Linked DNA regions of Homo sapiens: region 1 is linked to region 2. Evidence: promoter capture Hi-C in human tissues and cell types (Jung and others, 2019). All regions are on one chromosome and are shown on one strand. The core of a region is centred on a gene start or on the middle of the fragment in contact, and the rest is flanking DNA. Distances in the headings are between cores, read along the strand shown.

The links. The method cuts DNA at HindIII sites, captures the fragments that hold promoters and counts their contacts. A contact is called where the count stands out against the background at its distance.
Region 1: a fragment that was not itself captured here is called in contact with the fragment with the promoter of CRMP1 in region 2 in 4 of the 25 tissues and cell types used here (esophagus, mesendoderm cells, pancreas and 1 more).

What each region holds. Positions count from the first base shown.
Region 1 is chr4:5,846,574-5,853,181 of GRCh38, forward strand. CRMP1 (collapsin response mediator protein 1) reads right to left here. Exons shown (of 14, transcript NM_001014809.3): 5 at 4,835-4,896; 6 at 2,819-2,899. Among named protein-coding and RNA genes, the nearest start is that of CRMP1, 43 kb to the right of the region's middle. The HindIII fragment of the contact is 7,580 bases long and covers 456-6,608 here.
Region 2 is chr4:5,888,556-5,894,920 of GRCh38, forward strand. CRMP1 (collapsin response mediator protein 1) reads right to left here and starts at 4,531. Exons shown (of 14, transcript NM_001014809.3): 1 at 4,034-4,531. The coding sequence starts at 4,414. RefSeq lists enhancers at 1,648-2,392, 2,393-3,136. The HindIII fragment of the contact is 12,427 bases long and covers 1-6,365 here.

The sequences.
Region 1 (6,608 bases), core at 2,996-5,495, 42 kb before region 2:
AAGAAGCAGTTGGATCCCCAAAATTCTTTTTTTTTTTAAGACGGGGTCTCACTGTCACCCAGGCTGGAGTGTAGTGGCGTGATCTCATCTCACTGCAACCTCCACCTCCCACATTCAAGCAATTCTCCTGCCTCAACCTCCCAAGTAGCTAGGATTACAGGCACCCGCCACCATGCCCGGCTAATTTTTTTTTTTTTTTTTTTTTTTTTTTTTTTTTTTTTAGTAGAGGCAGTGTTTCGCCATGTTGGCCAGGCTGGTCTCAAACTTCTGACCTCAGGTGATCTGCCCGCCTTGGCCTCCCAAATTGCTGGGATTACAGGCATGAGCCACCGTGCCTGGCTGATCCCTGAAATTCTACTGAGCAAGAAGCAGGCTGAGAAAACCACTCAGCTGCAGACATGTACTACCTTTCACGAAAAAGGATGGATGACTCAGAGGATGGAAGCAGGAGCTCAGAAGGTAGAGCCAAGAGCTATGGAGACTTATTCTCAGGCTTTGAAACCCAGTCAAGGAACTGCCAACATTTCCCAGCCAGATTTCAGAACCGCCATGAACCAATAACTCCTTGGTGCCTTCTATTTTTCCCTTTTTGAATAGGAATGTCAGGTCCACCACTGCATGTTGTATATCAGGAGGGTCAGGGAGATATCTTCCTTCTTTAGCTTCATAGACCTACAGATTATGGGAAATACAGCCAAGGAGCCTCATCCACACCTGGACCTGGTTTGGATGATGAGATTCCAGACTGTGAACTAATGCTGTTATGAGATTTTGGAGAACCATGGGAAGGGGTGATTGTAATTTGCATGGGAGAGGAACATCAATCATGGGGGCCAGAAGACAGATTGGGAGGAAGTCTCAGATGTGGCCCTAATAATTCTCACTTCCTGACATTCCTGCCCTTGTATAATCCCTTCTTTTTGAGTGTGGGCTGGATGCAGTGACCTGTTAGCAATGAACAGAATACTCTTGCATGATGGAACTAAGGCACTGTTGGTTTTTTACATTGAATTTGAAAGAATTTCAATTGTGCAGGAAAACTACAAGGACTCAGATAAGAAGAAGTGAAGTCAATGAACCTTAATGGTGAAGCTTTAGATCTCCAGCACTGAACCATCATGTTGCTCTTCCACTGCGCTCTGGAACTAGAGGGAACTGGTTAACATCCTAACTCTACTGCCCCATGAGCAACAGTGAGCAACTTATTCATATCTGAGCTTCAGTTTCCCTATCTATAAAATGGGAATAATTATATCTACCTCACGGAGTAGTTGTGAGTATCAATATGTGAAGTCCTTTGCATCATGTCTGGCATTAACTACCTTTACTGGCTGCATCCAAACCTTCCCCTATAAGCCTGGCTTGATTTACAACATTATAACCAATCCATGCCTCTGCACCAGAGACCCAGGAGCCTGCCTGACTTCTTTCTCTTCTTCCTCCACCCAATCCGTCCATGGGTCCTGTAGATTGTGTTTCCCTCCTGTCATGCTCACCTCTTCCATCTCCTATCTCCTCTCTTCATTTCTTATGAGACTTGCTGAAATAGAACCTAGCTAGTCACCCTGACTTCATTTTTTTTTTTTTTTGAGACAGAGTCTCACTCTGTTGCCCAGGCTGGAGTGCAGTGGCGTGATCTCAGCTCACTGCAAGCTCCACCTTCCAGGTTCAAGCAATTCTCTGCCTCAGCCTCACACCTGATAATGGCTGTATTCTCACCTGTAATACCTGTATTCCCACCTGTAATAGCTGGGATTACAGGTGTGCTCCACCACACCCAGCTAATTTTTGTATTTTTTAGTAGAGATGGGGTTTTGCCATGTTGGCCAGGCTGGTCTCACACTCTTGGCCTCAAGTGATCAGCCCACCTCGGCCTCTCAAAGTGCTGGTATTACAGGCGTGAGCCACAACTCCCAGCTTTCATTCTTTTCCCAACAAATTCTCCACTCCACAGCTAGAATTATCAAAATATGTTCATGTCTCATTTTATCCAAAACTTTTGCATGGCTGCAGTCCATTATGTGTCAGATTCTGAACCTCACATACACGATGTCTTACTCTGTTTTCTGATGCTATTACAGAATACCATAGACTTGGTAATTTTACAGAAAATAAGTGTATTTCCCATGGTTCTGGAGGCTGGGAAATCTAATAACAAGGTGCCAGCATCTGGTGAGGGCCTTCTTGCTGCATCATAGCATGGCGGTGGGCATCACATGAGACAGCAGGTGCATGCCAGCTCAGGCCTCTCTTCTTCTCCTTATAAAGCCACTAATCCCGTCATAAGGCCCCCACCCTGATGATCTCATCTAATCCAAATTACCTCCCTAAGGCCTCACCTCCAAATACCATCAACATACTAGCTTGTGCATTAAGTTTTCAACATATGAACTTTTGAAGGACACATTCAAGCCATGGCACATAATATCATTTGATCCACACAATAACACTGCCAGGTGGTTGTTTCTGGAAGAAAAATAAGAGTGTTCATGGGAAAAAGTTCCTTGCCCAAGGTCACATGGCTAGGAGATGGAGGAGACTGGCATGGAACACCTCCTCCAAGCCTGGGCTTTTCCATGATGCCCACTCCCAATTCCTGAAGACAATGAGGAACACCAGCTTCCATGTGCATTGCCACTGGTATGACCTAGGTTTGCAAAGCATTTTCATTCATATCTGATGTGTCTGATATGACACCCAGTTCCTGGCTTGACCTTTCATTGTACAGCCTCCTCACTAACCAATGCTCTTTTATCAAACCTTTTGCAACAAGGAGAATCAGACTGAGGTAGAAGGAGTGGAAATTCTTGCCACTCACCTGAGCTATCAAATCTCCATTTTCTGCATGGACCAAGATCACAGCTCCCAGGCCCTTAAGGAAGGTAAAGGCTTCATAGAGCTATGGAGAGATAAACAGGGGTTGGTGTGAGATTTAAAAAAAAAAAAAAATCACAGCGTGTGCATTCATGAAGACCGTTCCGATCACACCCATTCGGTCATTCACCTGCCAGCCTCTGCAAACACATTCATGTGGATGGAATACGCTGCTACACAAGTCAGACTTGGAAGGATCATTCCTTGACCCTGACATCTTGCAGACCCAAAAGCAGGAAGCTGAGGATGGGGCACAACTGGTCCAAGTCACCCCAGGGCATGAAGACAGACTCAATCTCAGTGCCTATCTATGCCTTTTGCTGTCTTTTTGGGTTGGCTTTTTTGAAACACCTGTAGGTGTTAATGGCAGCAACTGGTCCTGAGAAGTCACTGTTAGTTTTACAGAAATTATCTAACTAAATCTGCTAAGCCTGTACCATAGCCACCTACATGCCACAGAATATGTGTGCATCCTTACAAAAATATGAACCCATGCCATTTTATGGACAATGGTGGGGTGGGGGAAACCAGCTCTCTAATAACTCCAATACTCAGAAAATATATAGCATGCCAACCATCCTCTCAATTAGACAAAACAGGCCCTCCCCACTGCCCAGTGTTCTCTTCCTACCTGAGGAGAATCTGCATTTGGGCATTGCCCCTGGTAAGGGCCAAAGCCACGAAGCTCCCTCTCCAGGGACACTTGAACCTCAACTTTGTTCTCCATGCATGCAAGACAACATCCCCTCGGATGTCTGCTTTCCGACAGACATCCCTATTTCAGCAAATAGGGAAGGCATGTGGAGGCATGAAGCACTTTTGAGAACCTGCACGCAGAGGCTGCTCGATTCCATCCATGCCCATGGCTCCAGTAGTTAGAATGAAACAGGTGAAAATCACAATTATGCCAGCACATCACATGCTATGTTTTCTATGTAACTGAACCAATTTTCAGCTCTTTGAGTGTCTTTTGTTGACTGTATCAAAGGCCTCCAGGACATCTTGGGATAAGTTATTTTCTGTAACCCCAAGTGTTTATCTGAAAGGAAGGACATAAAGTGCTTCTCCCGTTGCCCATCTATCTTCATGGTAATAACCAATTACCCTGCTAACTGATGCCTGTATGGCACCATTCTCTGCTAGGCACCATCCTAGCACTTTACTCTTCTTATGAAATCATTCAACTGCCTCTATAAGGTAGGGCTATCATGAGCCTAAAGCACAGAGAAGTTGGGAAAGCTGCCCCTGGCTGCAGAGCAAGCACCTGGCTTGGCTGTAGCCTCCATGATTTTCTCCACCACACTAACAAGCAGAGCAAGGGAAACTGACAATGAAACAAAACTAGGAGACCCAGTAGTATAAGAAGGCCAGGTGTCCTGTAAGTCGTAACCACTCCTCCTGAAGAACAACTTGCGGCTCCATATCCCTTGACTTGGTGCATGTACATAATAATTGTTTGCTGTTGGCAGGGCCAGAAATGTTCCATCTTACAAATGTGAGGAGATGACTTGCCCAGCATGTTGCAGTTGCTGTGAGGGAAGGCCAGGCAGTCTCTCTTCCTGTGTCAGAGCTCATAAATGGTCCCCATCCTTGCCTGAATACCAGGATCAAACGCAGAGCTTTCGGGAAGTACAGGCTCCTGAGTCCAACACCCAACATCTGGAACATGCACTAAGAATCTGTATTTCAAGTGAGCTCTCCAGATGATGCTGAGGATAAGCCAGATTTGGGAGCCACCAAACCAGGGAACCCCTTCTGCATGCCACTCACACAGTCAGAAAAGAACAGAAGCCCAGCTGGGGCAATGACTGACACCGTATCACACAGCCATTCCATGCCAGAACCAGGACTCGAATCCCACGGCTTCTCACAATCTCCCTTGCCCTGTGCTGCCTGGACTGGCAAAGCTGGCCCAGTCCTGCCCAGACAAGAGAGGAGAGAGTGAGTGTGAGGGACCTACCTGGCTGTCGGACATTTGGTAGACATCCTTATAGGCCATGTAGACTTGGAAGGAATTGACGCCTGTTTCAAGATAGAAAGGATAGAAAAATATGTTTAAGAAAAAACAGAAGCATGTCTTTCCAATAAATCAATGACCACAGAGCAGAGTGGTAGTCGCCAGGAGAGATGAGTGCCATTGGGATCCCCAGTGGGGCACCTATCCAGCCTGAGGATGTGGGCGAAGGTCAAAGGAAGCTTCCAGGGAAGGTCACACCTAAGCAGAATCTGAAGGTGATGGAGGAGAAAGGGAGGAGAAGGAGGAGGAAGGGGAGGAGAAGGAGAAAGAGGAGGAGGAGGAAGAGGAGAAGGAGGAGGATGAAGAGGAGGAGAAAGAGGACAAGGAGGAAGAGGAAGAGGAGGAAAAAGAAGAGGAGGAGAAAGAAGGAGAAGGGGAGGAGGAGGAGGAAGAGGAGCAGGAGGAGGAAGAGGAAGAGGAAGAGGAGGAGGAAGAAAAAGGAGAAAGAGAAGGAGAAGAGGAAGAGGAGGAAGAGGAGGAGAAAGGGAGAAGAAGGAGGAAGAGGAAGAGGAGGAGGAAGAGGAAGAGGAGGAGAAAGAGGACGAGGAGGAGGAGGAAAACTCCCCAGGCTGAGAGGGAGGGGTGTGGTAAGGATAAGGAAGGGTGTGATGAGCATCTGCAATACGGAAGATGAAAAGACATTAGTCATGCAGCTTCTAGAAAGTGTCCTAAAGCATGTGCTTTTTTATCCCATTTCTTTAAAGAATTGTGTTTGCAATTCCCATAAAGACATCAACAGTGACAGCTGCTCCGTCAGGGAGAGCTGAGTTCAGGCCTCAGTTGCTGTGTGGCACTTGAGACGTTACTGCACCTCTCTGGGTTTCACTTTCCCCATTTCTGCAAAGAGGACATTACACCAAACGTGTTGGTTTCCCATCCTGGAAATGCCCTGCACTGGACTGCACAGTACACTCATGACAAATAGCAAGATTTCTGGGCAAGCCCTTCTGACTTAGAGAAGGACGCACTAAAATGCTTCAGGACCAAGGAAACCAGGCGTGTTCCTCCTCCCTTTCTTCCCTCCCTCCCTGCTTCTCTCCTCTTTTCCTTTCCTAACTTATTTATTCATGTTACAAACACTTACTGAGAGCCTGCTGTATGCTGGGCATGTGCTAAGCACTTGAGATACAGAAGTTACTAAAGGCATCTTTCATGAAATCAATCAGCTGGTCCACTGATATTGGATGCAACTCTCTGTGCAGGTCCCAGCCATGCAACTGTGAGTAAGACGACAAGTCCCTGCCCGTAGGGGGCTCGCCATCTGGGCTGGGGTGTGGGAGTATCAGCAAGTCAATGGGCAAAGACAACTTAGTCTGATGATCCCTATGTGGGGGATGCATGGGGGGGTTGCATCTGTCAGGGGGCTTCAGGGAAGGCTTCCCAGGGGAGTACAGCTCAGCACGAACAGGAGAATCGCTAGGAAAAGGCAGGGAGACTGTTCCTGAAGGGGCCAGTACTCACTCACACAGCCCCAAGAGCCAGAGGCAGCCTCGAGCAGATGGGAAACGGAGGTGCAGGGGGCTGGGGCTCTGGGCCCCAGGAACTGGAACAAGCCAGTCTGGAGGAGCAGGCGCATCCTGATGAGCCAGGCAGACAGCTTGCAATTTATTCTGGGGATAATGTGGAATTGCTGAGAGCATTTAAGCTGATTAGAAAATAAAAACACAGGTGGGAGCAGTGGCTCACGCCTGTAATCCCAGCAATTTGGGAGGCCAAG
Region 2 (6,365 bases), core at 3,281-5,780:
GCGGAGCGAAGCCGGATTCGCCCCTCTCGGCTCGAACCAGGAAGCGCTTCCCTTCCGATCTCCCACCCCGCCCCCCGCCCCCCACCCGCCCAGCCCCGCCGACCCCCGCCCTGCGCACACGCCCTTGGCGGGCCCTGGCCTCGCTCTCGCGATCCAGAGAGTATGGTTTTCAGGGCTCCTTTAAAAGAAAAAGACGGCGCGGTCAGGGCCCGCGGGCGGCGCCACAGGTGTGTGGCCGCGCGTCTGGAGGCCTCCCCGGAACATCTGCGGGGGTGTGGGGGGAGGGAGTGTGGGACGGGGGCCAAGGATCGGCCCAAGCTGCTGGGAACGTTCTTGTCCCTCCAGGATCGCGCCCAAGGACCGCTCCCCTCTTGCCTCTCCTTCCATAGCCTCCGTTTATCCTTCCCGAGTGCCTCTCCCTGAATGCACCAAGCACTTTTTCCATCTCGGACCCCAAGCCTTTATTCACGCTGTACCCTCTCCCTGAATAGTCTACCCCAGACAAAAGCCTGTCCACTCCCCTAGACCCATCTCCAATGCCTTCCCCACCACGAAGCCTCTCCCTGCCACCCTCTCCATCCTAGCATTGAACCAGCCCTCCCTGGGGGCCTCTAAGGTGGAGCCCCCTAACTGGCAGAGGGAACAGCAGGGACAGAAGGGTACGGCCTTAATTAATGCTGACCTGTTCTACTCCAACAGCAGCTCCCTCATCACACAGCAGCCTGACACTGGGGCCACCAGGTCACCCCACAGAATTGCCTCCAAGACAGCAGGTGTTTGGAGGGCTGGGCCACTGGCACCAAGGTCTCCACAGCCCTGGGGACAAGCTGGGGGTCAGGAGGAGGACTAGGGTGCTCCTGCCTCCCAGCACTGTGGACACCAGCCCCGGAGTCCATGATCCAGATGTTGCTCCAGAGGGAGGTGGGCAGGAAGCCAGGTCACAGCTTGACAAGGTCCGTAACAGCAGAGGGGAAAAGATGAAAGAAGATGGAGGAAAAGGGGGAGCCCCAGCAAGCCCCAACCTCACTGGACAGGTGCCCCAAGTTCCCAGGCAGAATAAAACACCAACCTTGTCCACCACTTCGTTGTTCATTTTCTGCATGCGAAATCCAACCCCACAGGTCCTATGAAACTACTCATCTTTTCTGCTTTCAAGTTGCCATCCAGAGCGAGGGTGGCCTAGGCTTGGTACAGCTCCCCCAGCACTGTGGTTGGGGGCTGGGGCCCTGACCTTCACCACCCCAGGGGCCAGTCCCCTAATCCAGGGCAGGAGGCCAGAGACACCTGGGCCTTAAAATAGAGGTGAGGTTTTAGCTTCACAGAGAAGCCAGCTCAGTATCCCAGGAACACTAGGCATAATTTTCCCATTTTACAGACAGGAAATTGAGGCTTACAGAGGTAAAATGATGTACCCCGGGTGCAAAACATATTAGCTGCAGCAAAGCAGCATGGAGATGCCAGGTTCCCCTACACTCTGTTTACAACTCATTTCCCTCCACGCATTCATGCATCCCTGGCTCTCAGCGGGGCCTAAAATCCCTGTCAATGACCGGAAATTGCAGATGGGGACACTGTCCCTCCCCAACTCCTACACTCCCTTCCTTGGAGTTGTTAAGTCCTAGGTTCCCCGTACCAGGGCGTTCCCTGGGGTCAGTCTGGAGATCTGAGCAGAAAGCCCCTACAGCAAGGGACAAGACCACGTGCGTATCAGGGGGAGGAGCATCCGCCTGCCACTGGCCAAACAGATCGCTGCTCCCAAGCAGATTTCGCCGGTACAAAGCGCCGCAGCCGCTCAGCCTCCGGCAGCGGCAATCCTTGCGCCTGCGCCGCAGAAACCCCTCCTGCAGCCCAGGGAGAAGCCTGGTGGGCGGGGGGGGAAGGGCCGGGGCACCCGTTGCGAAGCCCTGGAGCGGTGAGGCCCGCCCCGGAACCCGAGCCCACTGTAACCCAAGCCTCAAGGCCGCTCTGCCGGCAGAAAGTAAAACCCTCCCTCCGTGGAGATCGCGAGCCCCTGAGTTCCACAGTCGCGAAGCTCGAGTGCTTTCGGAGCCCCGGGAGCGCCAGAGGCGCTGCCTTTTGTCCGGTGCCTGAGAAGCCATGGAGAAAGGCAGAGGGGACCACAGGGAGAAGAGGAAGGAGTAGGGGAGAGGAACGGGAGAGGTGAAGCGACCAGCGTCCCCAAGGGTCAGGGCGCAGCTGCGGGGCTGGCCCAGGCTGCGCCCTGGGGGAGATGCTGGCGTTGGTGACATTGACCGCAGTTCCAGAGGAACTCTCCTTGGGACAGCTACGGGCCGTGCACAAAGCGCCCTCGCCTCCCTAGTACTCCACCACGCTTTGAGGAAGGCCGGAAGAAGACGGCCACCCCCATCTGACAGATGGAGAAGCTGAGGCCCAAGAGAGCAAAGCGCCTTGGCTGGAAACCCGGATTCCCTGGTGCTGGTCCCGCTTCTCGGCCCGCGGCCCAGAAGCCTCCCCATCGGGCTCGGGAGTTTGGATCCCAAGAGAGGTCGGACCACCAGGGAAGGTAGTGGACAGGGGGAGATACAGAAGGGGTGGGGGAAGAGGAAGCTGGACTCTCGCACCATCTCCCTTTCTGATCACCCCACCACCACACACACATACACACACACACACACACACACACACACACACACACACCCTTGCTGTTGGACCTCTCCCTCGCGAGGCTCCGGCTTCAGGACCACGGAGAGCTCTGGAGCAACAGCCCGCCCGCGAAGGGATGGGGCCCGAAGAGGCCCACCACCGTGTTTACCAGTTCCCTGCTCCTATTCCTCCAGGAAGCCCTCCCAGATATCTGCCCCGATCAAGCTCTGCTTCCCTCCAGGCTCACTTTGGGTCACTCATAGCATTTAAGAGGGGAAGGTTTAATTAAAATGATAATGATTGTAATAAAAGTCAACAACAAACATTTATTGAATGCTCACTACCGACCGGCATTAACTGATTTAATTCTCACAATGAATCCGTCGCTCACCCTAGCCTGGGAACTTCTGGAGGGTGGGGCCAGGTTGCTGAGCCAGGGACCTAGCGCCTACCCTGGGCCTGGCACCTAGCAGTTCTCCGGCATCCAGGTCTGGACCAATTCGAAAGCTCCCCAGCCCTCGGATGCTCCAACTTCCGTTTTTCTGGCACCTGACCCTGGCTCTCGTCGGTCCATCCAAAGGCTACGCCGTCCATCCGCCCTTCTTCCCCCAGTTTCCTGGTGACCCCCAGCTCAAGAGAGAATACCCGCAGGGCCCAAGCCCTAGCGTTCCCTCTCCCTGATCCTCCCGGCCCCATGCTCAGGTCCGGGAGGCCAGAGACCCCAGTTCAAATCCCAGCTCTACCTCCACCTTGCTCTGTGAAGCAGGCACATCGGTGTGTGCTGTGGAGCTCAGGAGTGCCCCTTGAATCTACTGGCGCTTGAGGGTAGGGGTTTACGGCTCCAACTGCCCGACGAACTAAATCCTTAACCAAATCCTTCCCCCCAGCAAGCATGAGGGGAGCGCTCGGAAAAAAAGCTCCTTCCAGCTTTAAGCTGTGTGGCCGCAGGCGACTCGCGGAACCTCTCCCGGGGCCCGGCACACAGTAGGTGCTCTATAATTACTACCGACTGAGTGGATGGATGAATGGACCAACACGGAACGGAGCTCCAGTTCTTTTCACAAAACAGAATGAGGGGCCTGGGTTAGATTCATCCCAGAGGTTCCTTCGCGTTTAAGCGTCCATGCGGTAGCTTTAGCCAACTTCCCCTCTCAGAACCTCTCTCCCTTTCTGTAGAAGAGGAGCCGGGACTGGACCCGGGCGATCCCTTCCGAGTCTCACGGACCACGCCGGCCAGCCCCGACCGAGTCGCCCCAGCTCTGGGAACCTCTTGCATGATGAGGTGGGGGAGGGGCCGCGCCGTGGCTCTCCCCAGCCTGGCGGCCGCTGCCCCAACACCGGGGCCCGGGCATGGCCCTCGGGCGCCCCATGCCCTGGGTCCTCCCGGGGCCCGCCCCCCTCGTCTGGCCCGCGCGCGCCCCGAGGGTACCTGGCCATTGTCCCGGCCGAGGGGCAGGTCGCGGGGCGCGGGGCGGCGGATGCGCAGCGTCGGCGGCCGCTCGTCGCGCTCTCCGGGAGAGCTGACCGCGGAGCCCGAGGGCTCGCTCACGTCGCTGGCCGTGTCCTCGCTGCCTCCCGGCCCTGGCAGCCCGACCGCGTCGGGCCGGCCAGCGCTGCGCGGCGTGCGCGCCGAGCCGCGGCGGCCCACACTGTAGGCGTCGAAGTCGATGGTCTTGTTCTCGTAGGCGCCCTCCACCGCGGCGAACATGCCGCCGTACTTCTGGCGCGGGGTCTGCGCCGCGCTGCCCGGCCGCGCCAGGTACACGGGCAGGTCGTCCTCGGTGTTCCACGCGCGCCGCCGGTCCGCCATACCCGTCCAAGGCCGGCCACCCACCGCGCTCCCGCCTGCCCGCCCGCGGCCCTGGGCACCGCCGTGCGCCGCGCTCCGCGCCTCGGTGCGGGCCTGCGGCGGCCCGGGCGCGACTGCGGCCCAGGGAGGGGAGGGGCGGGGCGTGGCGCGCGCCGGGGCGGGGCCGGGGCGGGGCCTCTGGGCGGCTGCGGGCTAGCGGCGCGGCCAGCTACAAAGGACCAGGAGGCGGGGATCGCGGCTGGGGCGGGGAGGGACGGTGACGCTCCCGAGCCGCAGCGCGGAGGGCGGGCCGCGGCACCGCAGTGCCCTCGCCGCACCCCCCACTCTCCGCCCCCAGGCGGAGCGCAGGGCGCGAGGAGAGCGCGGGGCAGGAGCCGTGTGCGTACACTCGCGCGCCCACACGCTCTGGAGGCACACGCGGGTTCATACCTGCACACCAGACAATTACGCCAAACACATGAGAGATGCACAGACATGCTGGCACACACACGAGAGTCAATCACACATGCTCTCCAGAGATACACAGGGGCTCGATCATGCACACCATACTCAATGTTGCACACACATACACATATATGCTTGTGCACATTCCGAGTTCATTACAAACACACAACAGAAATCCTCATTGTCTCACAACCCCACTCACACACAGTATCACACCAAGATTAATTGCACAACTGGAGAGGCACATGCGTTGGACACACCGTTCATTCCGTCAGTTTTATTTTGCTGAGCGCCCACTAGTGCCTAGCACTGTTGTAGGAGCTGGGAACAGAGCCATGGACAAAAGAGACCAAGTGCCTGCCCTCCAGGAGCTGACCTGCTAAGGAGGGGAATTGGATACAAAAGCACCCATATGGTGGGCCAAGAGGTGGTAAGGGCCAGGAAAGGTGGTGCAGCAGCCAAGAGGGACATGCTAGAGGCACACTCCGACAGACACATAAGAGAAGCACATTCTTGCATGAGAATCAGCGACACACACATACACGTGCACGCCAATGACACCACACAACACACCAATATCAAAGGCAAGCTCAGGGCGATTCCACACATGTGCATCATAAACTGGCAACAGGATGCCCACACACAAGTCCACACCAGTAATAAAGGAAGTCAAAAGCTTAAATAAAAACGCTCCAGAGAAAGACACACAGAGACAGAGATGACCACACACACACAGCTGGCAGTCAACCAGACAGACAGATATTCCCTCATTCGAGGGGCACAGTCCACTTTTGTTGCTCCTGGAGCTTGCAGTCTGGGCGTTCTGGGGTTTCTCTGTCGTGGAGGTCGCTCTGCTGGGGCTCTCCTCTAAGGCCAGGCACCACCTGCCTCCTATAGACACCTTCCCTTATTTCTCCACGATTATCAGGCAGAGGATCCTGCAAGTCCCTGGGGACCCTACAGTCCCAGCTGCACTTCCTGGAGAGGCAGAATCGCCAGCTGCCGACCCCCTCCTCGAGCCAGTCTAGACAAGCAAAGTCAGGACTGGGTGGGGACTGCAGAGGGGAGCATCAGTGCTTCTTGCAATGTCCCCCCACCCATAGCCTTCCATGCTGGGAGCTGTCCCTTCAACCCCGGGCCCTGCCAGCTGCAAGCCAGAGCTCCCGCAGCGTGACCAAGCTCCAGGAATACCAGACAGACAGATGGATTCATGTTCTTGTTTTATGACTCTTGGGCCCCATGGACTGAGGATCCTGGGGCCGTCGGATCCGTGGCCTCAGCTGACACCTCCCTGAAGCTACTGTCTTTCAACCCTGCAACAAGGGGTCTGTGCAGCAGGTAGGTATTTTTACCGGCCCCCTCTTGGAAGAGGAAACAGGAGGGGAGATGTGAAATGGCTCCCTCAGGGCCTCAATCTCAAGGAGGTTCAGCCAGGCCTAGAGCGTGGGCTCATCCACTCGGTGGGCATTTAGCAAGTTATTTTTCTGTGCTTGAGAGAGAGGCTAGT